Linked DNA regions of Homo sapiens: region 1 is linked to region 2. The links are contacts of gene promoters, found by promoter capture Hi-C in blood cells and fetal thymus (Javierre and others, 2016). All regions are on one chromosome and are shown on one strand. Each heading gives the region's core, a stretch centred on a gene start or on the middle of the fragment in contact. The rest is flanking DNA. Distances are from core to core; before and after follow the strand shown. Region 1 overlaps NUBP1 (NUBP iron-sulfur cluster assembly factor 1, cytosolic). Region 2 holds the start of METTL22 (methyltransferase 22, Kin17 lysine).

Evidence for each region. Contacts are between HindIII fragments. The CHiCAGO score rates a contact against its expected background, and 5 or more counts as called.
Region 1: a fragment that was not itself captured here is called in contact with the fragment with the promoter of METTL22 in region 2 in 1 of 17 cell types (non-activated CD4 T cells); the score reaches 6.9 in non-activated CD4 T cells.

What each region holds. Positions count from the first base shown.
Region 1 is chr16:10,750,839-10,755,654 of GRCh38, reverse strand. It overlaps NUBP1 (NUBP iron-sulfur cluster assembly factor 1, cytosolic), which reads right to left. Exons shown (of 11, transcript NM_002484.4): 4 at 2,977-3,045. Among named protein-coding and RNA genes, the nearest start is that of NUBP1, 9.4 kb to the right of the region's middle. The HindIII fragment of the contact is 7,689 bases long and covers 1-4,816 here.
Region 2 is chr16:8,618,841-8,623,419 of GRCh38, reverse strand. METTL22 (methyltransferase 22, Kin17 lysine) reads right to left here and starts at 1,722. Exons shown (of 11, transcript NM_024109.4): 1 at 1,645-1,722. The HindIII fragment of the contact is 6,720 bases long and covers 1-4,579 here.

The sequences.
Region 1 (4,816 bases), core at 821-3,320, 2.1 Mb before region 2:
GACAAATTGTACAAAGTAAGACGATGGTTTTTTAAAATATAATTCATTGTCTTACATGGTACCACGAAATTCCTAAAAGGAGGTGAACAGCTAGGGCGTGGGTAATAAAGATGCAACTCAACTCCCTTTGTGCCCTAAGCTGGGTTATTTGGAAACTCTACTTGGATGTCTAGATAGGGAACCAAAGTTACTCAAGTTCAAATATGATGTTGTGTCTAAGGTATCTTAAAAGAGTCATAAAAATCGGCTGGGGACTGATGAGAAAATGCAGATACCTGTGGAGCAATGAGGTGGCTTTTGTAAAAGCACAGGAGTGAAGGGAATGAGCTCTCACGAAACAGCTGATTCAGAACCTGTCCCCAATCAGCTCCAGCCACAAAGGGGAGCTTCCTGGGGCAACAAGATTCAGACCTCTTCCCCCCAGCAGGTGTCCAGCAGCACACAAAGCGCACACTGAAAGTTTAATTTTCTTGATGAAGCCTTACTTTTCTCAACAGATTTACTGAGACATGATTCATAGACAATATGACTCACCCATTGAATGAGTGGCTTTCTGTACAGTCACAAGCATGCAGCCATCACCACAGTTTTATTTTTTATTTTTATTTTTGAGATGGGGTCTTGCCCTGTCGACCAGGCTGGAGTGCAGTGGCGTGATCCTGACTCACTGCAACCTCCACCTCCCAGGTTCAAGTGATTCTCCTGCCTTAGCCTCCCAGGTAGCTGAGATTATAGGTGCCCGCCACCATGCCCAGCTAATTTTTGTATTTTTTGTAGAGACGGGGTTTCACCATGTTGGCCAGCCTGGTCTCAAACTCCTGACCTCAAGTGATCCACCCGCCTTGGCCTCCCAAAGTGTTGGGATTGCAGGTGTGAGCCACTGTACCCAGTCACCACAATTTTAGAACATTTGCCTGACTCTTAAGAAGAATCCCTATACCCCTCAGCTGTCACCACCCCCCACAGTCTGTCTCACATCCTCCCAGCCTTACAGGACCCCTAATCCACTTTCTCTCACTGTGGACTGACCTATTCTGCACATTTCATGTAAGTGGAATCACACAACATGCGGTCCTCTGTGACTGACTTCGAAGTTCTATTAAAAGACACCCAGCCAGGCACAGTGGCTCACACCTGTAATCCAAACACTGCGGGAGGCTGAGGCGGGAGGATCACCTGAGGTCAGGAGTTCGAGACCAGCCTGGTCAACATGGTGAAACCCCAACTCTACTAAAAATACAAAAAATAGCTGGACGTGGTGGCGTGTGTCTGTAATGCCAGCTATTCAGGAGGCTGAGGCAGGAGAACTGCTTGAGCCCGGGAGGCGGAGGTTGTGGTGAGCCGAGATCGCGACACTGCACTCCAGCCTGGGCAACAAGAGTGAAACTCTGTCTCAATAAAATAAATAAAATAAAATAAAATAAAATAAAATAAAATAAACCCCACAAAACCATTCATTCCTATTTACACTCGTTTGCTAAGTCCATTTGTCTTAAAAGAGGGGTAAACAGGATGATCCAATAGTGCAGGAGAAGAAAATAGGGAAACTTCTATTTTCTTTTATTTTAAAATTTTCTGTTTCATGAAATAATTACGTGTGATGACAGTAGCTTATACCTTCACTGTGGCGTGTGCTACCAAATCCATTGGGGTATGTGACCAAGCCTCACAGGGTGACATCGCTCTCCTTCCCTACTCCCTCGGAAGCAAACCCCAAGGCCTTAGAAGTGCCTGCAAGGCCGGCCCCATCTGCTTCGGGCCACCCTCCAGCCCCTCTGGTCACTCCACTGAGGACACAAGGACACCTTGTGTCAGCGGCCCATGCAGTTGCTCCCTTAGCCCAGAATGCCCTTCCCCCAGCTCTCCCCTCCTGTCATCCTCTGCTCAAATGCTATCCCTCAGTGAGGGCACCTTTGACCACCCCTCAGCCCCTCTGACTCTGCCCTACTGTCCATCCCCTCACTCTGGGTTGGTTTCACATTATCTAGCATCTGCCTTCTCCCACCCAGACAGGGGTCTTCATGGACCTTGTTCACCACTGCATCCCCAAAACAGGATTAATGCATTCCTGGCACTAATTAAAGAAAGAACCAATCTTGAGACTCTCGGGACATCCCAGCACCCCCAGCCCCAGCTTCCATGCACTGCCCTTGGGGGAATCCTCTCTTGGAGAGCTTCTTGCTAGCAAGAAGAGGCCAGCAACTACATAGACTGCTACAGCCCTGCCCCCAGCCCACATCGCTCACCCGCCCTGCAGTCTCAGTTCCCCAGGGGAGACCACAAGGGCAGAAATATTCCCTTGCTTCCAGGGTACAGACCCATAGCAAGCCCTGGTCTAATGTTCCCAGTCAGAGCTAAATTTCCGTGTCTTACTTCTGCATTTCACTGGCTGTTTCCCTTCCCCTCTGAGGAGGCATCGAAACCAATGCTTCTCCAATGGTGTAGACAGACTTCATATACAATCCCGCCCCTCCCCCGCCAAGACTCACAGTTGTTGTTAAAAGTAGACAGATGGACTACTGAGCATGTATGAGCTCCTCATGTCCACATAAACATTTACAGGCCAGGTGCGGTGGCTCACGCCTGTAATCCTAGCACTTTGGGAGGCTGAGGCAGGTGATCACTAGAGGTCAGGAGGTGGAGCCCAGCTTGGCCAACGTAGTGAAACCTGGTCTCTACCAAAAATACAAAAATTAGTTGGGCATGATGGCACACCACTGTAGTCCCAGCTACTCAGGAGGCTGAGCACAAGAATCGCTTGAACCCAGGAGGTGGAGGTTGCAGTGAGCTGAGGTTGCACCACTGCACTCCAGCCCGGGCGACAAGAGTGAGACCTTGTCTCAAAAACAACAAAACAAAACAACAACAAAAAAACATTTATGGGCTCCGCATGCCTCTTTGTTGAGGTTTGACAGTTCAGTGCTACAGAGTTTGCCTTAAGAGAATAATTTCCTGAGTTCTGTAACCGGCTATTACCTGCTCTCCTTCCAATCCCATTATCTTGGGAATCGATGGCCCACATATATCGATGTCTAGAAGAGCAATCTGGGGACAAGAAGAGACCAAAGCGGTTATATAACTGAATGCACACACTCCAGACACACACAACTAGGAGGGGAGCGGGGTTAGAGGAAAAGGACAGGGGAGAAGACAGAAACTGGGTTAAACTTGGAGCCATCAGATTCTCCTGAGGGAGAGTCCTAACGCTGATCTCAAGGTTCATAAACACTGATGCCCCCATTCCCCTACCCCTCAGCCTGGCTGAGCTCCTCAAGGGTGATCTTACAGACCTGGCTGTCAGGTCACTTGGAGGCTCGGGCTCAGACCTTGTTTACTGAGCCCTGGTTGGAGGAGACGGGGAAAGGGACCTAGCGCCTGTTTGGCTTGTGTGACAGAATGGATGGAACAGCCAAGAGACGGCAGTGTTGGAGCCACCCTAAACAGCTCTCTTTTGCTCACCCCTCACCAAGCCTTGGTCTCTGCATCTTAAATTTTTCTCAAACTCATCCTATCTTGTTCAGGAGTCTCAGATACAAGCCAAATCTAGACTATTTAAGCAGAATATGAATGTATTAAAAAATATTGGGGGCTGGGTGCAGTGGCTCACGCCTGTAATCCCAACACTTTGGGAGGCTGAGGCGGCCATGTGCCTAGAAGGTAAGTATCATTATCTCTGGTTTACAGAGGAGGAAACTGAGGTTCAGAGGGGACCAGTTCAATAAGCAGGGAACAGAGCTGGGACATAAACTGAGGTCTTTCGGCCCCAACTGGGGCTCTTTCCAGTACACCACGGGCCTGCTGTGGAGGACCAGAGTGGAGCCTCTAGCTGAACCCTGACCAAGCCCTGTTTTCCTTTGATCCTGAAGGTGAATGATGGTTTAGGCTAAACTTACAGAACAGAAACTTAAAGTAAGATGGAAACCTGGAAAAGCTCTTTAGTTGTGACTCAGGTGCAGCTTCAGGCGACCCCATTCCACCCCAAGCCTTCCCCTCTGATACAGGAGGTCTGAGACGGCCTTCAGGAACCTTCTGAGAACAGGGCTAGTATTCATCTTGAAAGCTGCAATGACTCGGATCCAAAGTGCTGCACCTCCGCGTCACTTTTTAACTTGCCCTGAATTAGTTTCTTGCCACCCTCTTCAATCCTCTCAACAAACCCAGCCTCCTACTTCCTCAGCACCCAGCGCTGTCTCAAACTTGTGCACGGGAAAACGCCATCCACAGACCAGCACTGGCCTCAGGTGCCCTCTATGGAGCCATCCGGGGAGAACAGCAGAGCGACATCATCGGAAAACCTGACTTGCTCTCTCCGGACCTTGATACTTGGGACTGATGTGTCAATGATCCACGGGGAAATGACACTATCACTATGACTGTGATAGAGACTTTCCTCGATACTCTCAGGTTTCTAGTGACTCTGTCTCCATGCCCTTCCTTTAGGGAACAATTTAATCAATTCCCTTTAGAGGAATTTCACTCCCTTGGGGAGTGAATCTTGAGCGAAATGATGTAAGGATATGAGAAGCAGATCCAGCGCACTCTCTCACTCCCGTGGCAGGCCCGAGAGGCTGTTGACAAGCTCCTGCTACCCAGATGGCCAGGACGGCCCTGGGTCCTGTCTGTTCAGACTTCCTGTTGATCTTATTACTACCCCAAAATCTGTCCATTTAATTTTGCTTAGGTTAGGCCAGAAAAGCAAAGCTGAGAGCAATGCGCCTGCGTTCCTCCCAGCAGGACCTCTGGGCCTGTGTTTGCAGCTGATGGGAAGAGGCCGCGTTTGCTGCAGAAGGTGGAGATGCTGCAAGGCTGTCGGGAC
Region 2 (4,579 bases), core at 473-2,972:
TTTTTGAAGGGGGTGGGGAAGATCCTCTCTAATATTGCTGTAAAAATCAAAAGTGAACCAAAGGATGCCATTTCTTTTTTTGCCATAGCGCATTTTTTTTTTTTTTTCTGAGACAGAGTCTCACTCTGTTGCCCAGGCTAGAGTGCAGTGGTGCCATCTCGGCTCACTACAACCTCCGCCTCCTGGGCTCAAGTGATCCTACCTCAGAGTCCCGAGTAACTGGGACTACAGGCATGCACCACAATGTCCACCTAATTTTTGTATTTTTAGTAAAGATGGGGTTTTGCCATGTTGGCCAGGCTAGTCTTGAACTCCTGACCAAGGTAGATCCATCTACCTTGGCCTCCCAAAGTGCTGGGATTATAGGTGTGAGCCACCAGGCATGGCCTATAGCGCAATTTTGTTGGAAAACTTACATCCCAGAAAAATCAATGTTCTTTGCTTTTTCCAAAAGTGAGCATAATATTACACACCAAATTTTAAGTATAGACACACACAAAAAAACTCAAATTCTTAATCTCTAGTTGAATTTTCCATTTTTAAATTCAACCCAACCAGGCTTCCCAAGAAATGTACGCTGCAATGTAAGTTCCAGATGAAGGAGATTCCCTTTAAGTGGCTTTCCCTAGAATCAGCTATCTGGGAATAAGGAGGCCCTCTTGAACCTATCTCAGGCCCTCATATACTCAGAGGAGTATATGAGACAATTACCACTTTTCGGGCTTACGACATATAGTAAACGTTCAATAAGCAACAATAGTAAATACTATCATTATAGTAATATAATAATGATTAAAGTGAATGCTGGGAAGAAAGAAAAAAGGTAACAGTTTCTCTAGTCAGGAAAAGTCTCTTTCCGGAAATGCAGGGTCTGTATGGGCTTCGGGCTCCTCTCTTTACTGGGCAGAGCTGAGAAAGGAGACCCAGGTTGCAGATGGGGACCTGCCCCACCACCTCTCCATAGGGCTGCAGGCTCATCCCTGCAGCAGGAGCTAACGTGTTCTTGGCTCTTCTAAGGCTGTGGGGGCTAGACTGAGACGCTACCAGCTTTCTTCTCCTATAGGTCCCCAGTCAGTTGTCCCAAATAAGCAGTGTGCTGGGATCACGGTGTTGAAATAACTTCCCTCCTCATCTTTCTTTCTGATAACTGCAACTCACTCAACAATCAATAATTTGGCGCGATCCCATGACGATTTAGGCCAGGAGCTGGGGAGGGCAGGGTGTGAAGGCCCAGGCTGGGGGCAGGAAAGACGTGGCCTGGCCACGGTGCGTAGAGTGGTAGTGAGGGGCTCCGGGGACGTCCCCCGTGGGGCTACTCGTTCTCTTTGTCTTGTCGCCTTCCTGACGCCACCCTTGTGGGTTAACTATTGCCCTCTCAAAAAACAGTCACAGGTCGGGCACTGCCCTCCCTTCCTAATCTAGAACCGAAGGAGAGGTGCCTGGACCCAGGATGGAAACCCAGGTGAGGACGTGGACTTCTTTCCCCAACACCCGTGTTGAGAAGGGGAAACTGACGCTAAGAGTGGGGTCGGGCCTTAGGGATCTGGGCCTCCGATCTGTGGGAGCTCGGATTTCAAAGTCAGGCTCGGCGCCAGGAGGTTCCCTGCACCCTACCCTATCCCGCCGCCTCTCCCAGGCACTTACCCGCCGCGGGGCCCAGCCTGGGATCCCACCCGACTCCCGTCTCTGTGGGACTTAGGCGGCCGCCATAACAGGCGGTCTGCGCAGGCGCGGCCCCGCCCCCGCGTGCGACCATCCGACTGCCCCGCACCGTGGCTCCACCTACCTGCCCGGGCCGCGCATGCGTCCGAGGGTTGCCGGCGGGCACCTGTAGCCTTCGCTCTGGTCGCGGGCGAGGCGTGTTTGCTGGGGGGACCCGCCTAGGTGGCTAAACTCATTCCTCTAAAAGACTTAAATAGGAGTTAAATAACTCTCCCAGCTACTAAGTGGTAAAGCCTGGATTCGAACCCGGGGTGTGGGATCAGAGCCGGTGCTATTTAACCAGCATGCTACTGTATTTATTATCACGGGTGTTACCGTCATCCATGCTCTTAGTACTCGTTTGTTTGTTTGTTTGTTTATTTGAGATGGTCTTGCTCTGTCACCCAGGCTGGAGTGCAGCGGCGCAATTTTAGCTCACTGCAGCCTTGAACTCCTGGGCTTAAGGAATCCTGTTTCAGCCTCTCTAGTAGCTGGGACTACAGTTGCGTGGCACCATTTTTTTTTTTTTTTGTACAGACTGTATCTTGTTGTGTTGCCCAGGCTGGTCTCAAACTCCTGGCTTCAAGCAGTCCTCCTGCTTCGGCCTCCTAAAGCTCATAAATTACAGGCATGAGCCACCACGCCCAGCCAGTACTTGTTATTATTAATAGGTGGTAGTGATTTCATTAGGTGGTAGTGATTTCGTTAATTCGTATGCTCATCAAGTTTCCAACACCAAGGGGGTGAGACAGAGTGGCAAACATAAGACTCCATGTTTGCTCGTTTTTTCTTGCCTGCAGAATTTCAGAAAGCCTCTGAGTCCGTGACTGAGCACAGCCCTCAGAAGAATCCCCTGAAGAGGATGAGCAGGATAGACCACAGATTCTCACGTCTCTTGCCTGAGTCACTGCATTTTTAGAAAAAGTACAGTCAATAATATTGGCCCTTTTCTCAATCTATATATTCAGTGACATCATGGAAGTCAGCCTGGCCACAATGGAGTAAGCCAGGGGATGGGCCGCAGGAAACGAGGATACATAGGTAGCCAGGGTTAGAACTTTTGTGACATTCTAAGAACTTTGGATTTTACTGTGCGTGAGATGGGGAGCTGCCAGGGATATACACCACACTGACGTGTTCACAGACATGCCCAGACACACACAGTGGTGCTCACTCTCAGACATGTCAGTGAACATACAAATATACACACAGGAACATATGTAAAGTCCACATATGTAAAATCTATATCCCTGTGTGTTCACATATACACACACGCACACACATGGCCTCAGCTGGCAACCTTTGTCTAAATTACTTTTTTTTCTCTTTTCAAAATAGAATTAAATCAACATCAATTTCATGGTTACTGATGATAAAACGTGGAGAGTTGATAGGGTGACTAAGCGACACAAATAAGAATTTTTTTTTTTTTTTTTTTTAAGAAACAGATTATGTTTCCTGAAATCCCCCAGGACAGTACACAGAGAGCCAGTTGGGTGTCTTGGGACCAGATTCTATTCATAGTTTTCTCTCTAGTTCGCTGAGGGTTCTCTTAGTTATCCCCAGAGGATGTTGAGTGGTGGGGAGGGCACTAGGAAGGCATTGTTCACACCCTTGGGAGTTTTGTCTTCAAATTTAAACCGGGGGAATGACCCTTAAAAATCAAAAGATCACATTCCTCCTCTTGTCAAACCTATAATCTTTTATAGGGGATTAGTGCCCCTACAAAAGAGGCCCCAAAGAGCTGCCTCACTTCTTCTGTCATGTGAGGACACGGCAAAAAGACAGCCATCTATGACCAAGAATTGGACACAGAATCTGCCAGTGCCTTGATTTTGGACTTTCCAGCCCCTAGAACCATGAGAAATGAATGTGTTTATCAGCCACCCCATGTATGGTATTCTGTTATAGCAGCCCAGATGGCCCCAAAAGGGTTATCATTTCTGCCACAAATTTTGAGGTGGTTTGCAACACAGTAATAGGTCACCAGGTAAGGGGAAAGAAAGCCAGCCCTTCTTGGCAGGGCTGCAAAGAGATGGTAGCTGGGGGAGTGCGGGAGGGGGCCCTCAGTTCCGGAGCCTCAGTTATAAACAAGGCACACTGCTGGCCCCTTCATCTTGTGGTTTTGTTTCATTCTCACACCCATTCCGAAGCTCAGAGAGGTGAAGTGCCTTGCTCAGTGTTACCTAGCCAGTGAGACGCAGACTCACGTTTTCTTTTCTTTTCTTTTTTCTTTTTGACAGAGTCTCCATTTGTCGACCAGGCTGGAGTGCAGTGACGCCATCTCAGCTCACTGCAACCTCTGCCTCCCTGGATCAAGCAATTCTCCTGCCTCAGTCTCCTGAGTAGCTGGGATTACAGGCGTGTGCCACCACATCCAGCTAATTTTTGTATTTTTAGTAGAGACGGGGTTTCACCATGTTGGCCAGGCTGGTCTCAAACTCCTGACCTCACGTGATCTGCCCGCCTTGGCCTCCCAAAGTGCTGGGATTACAGGCATGAGCCACCACACTTGGCCTCAGACTCACATTTTCAAAATGTCCCAGTGAGTCTGCTGGGTGGAGCCTTAGGGTTAAATGCCCTCCCTAGTGTCCCAGGCAGGTCTTTTGCTTTGAGAGTCTCCCCCAGACTTGGCGAAGCAAGGGTTAAGGTGCATGCTCACACACGCTGGAGTGTCCATCACTCCCACCACCTGGACTAATGACAAACCATGTCTGCAGCAGAGGGAAGGCGGATGAACTGCCAGATGTGTATTAAGAAACCAGCTTGCAGGAAATTGCTGTCGGGTGATTATTATTAGCTGGGTTATTCAGAACAGCCCTTTCTCCAAAGGTCGTGCATTTACCAAATGCTTGATGTGTTTTCCCAGTCAGCCCCA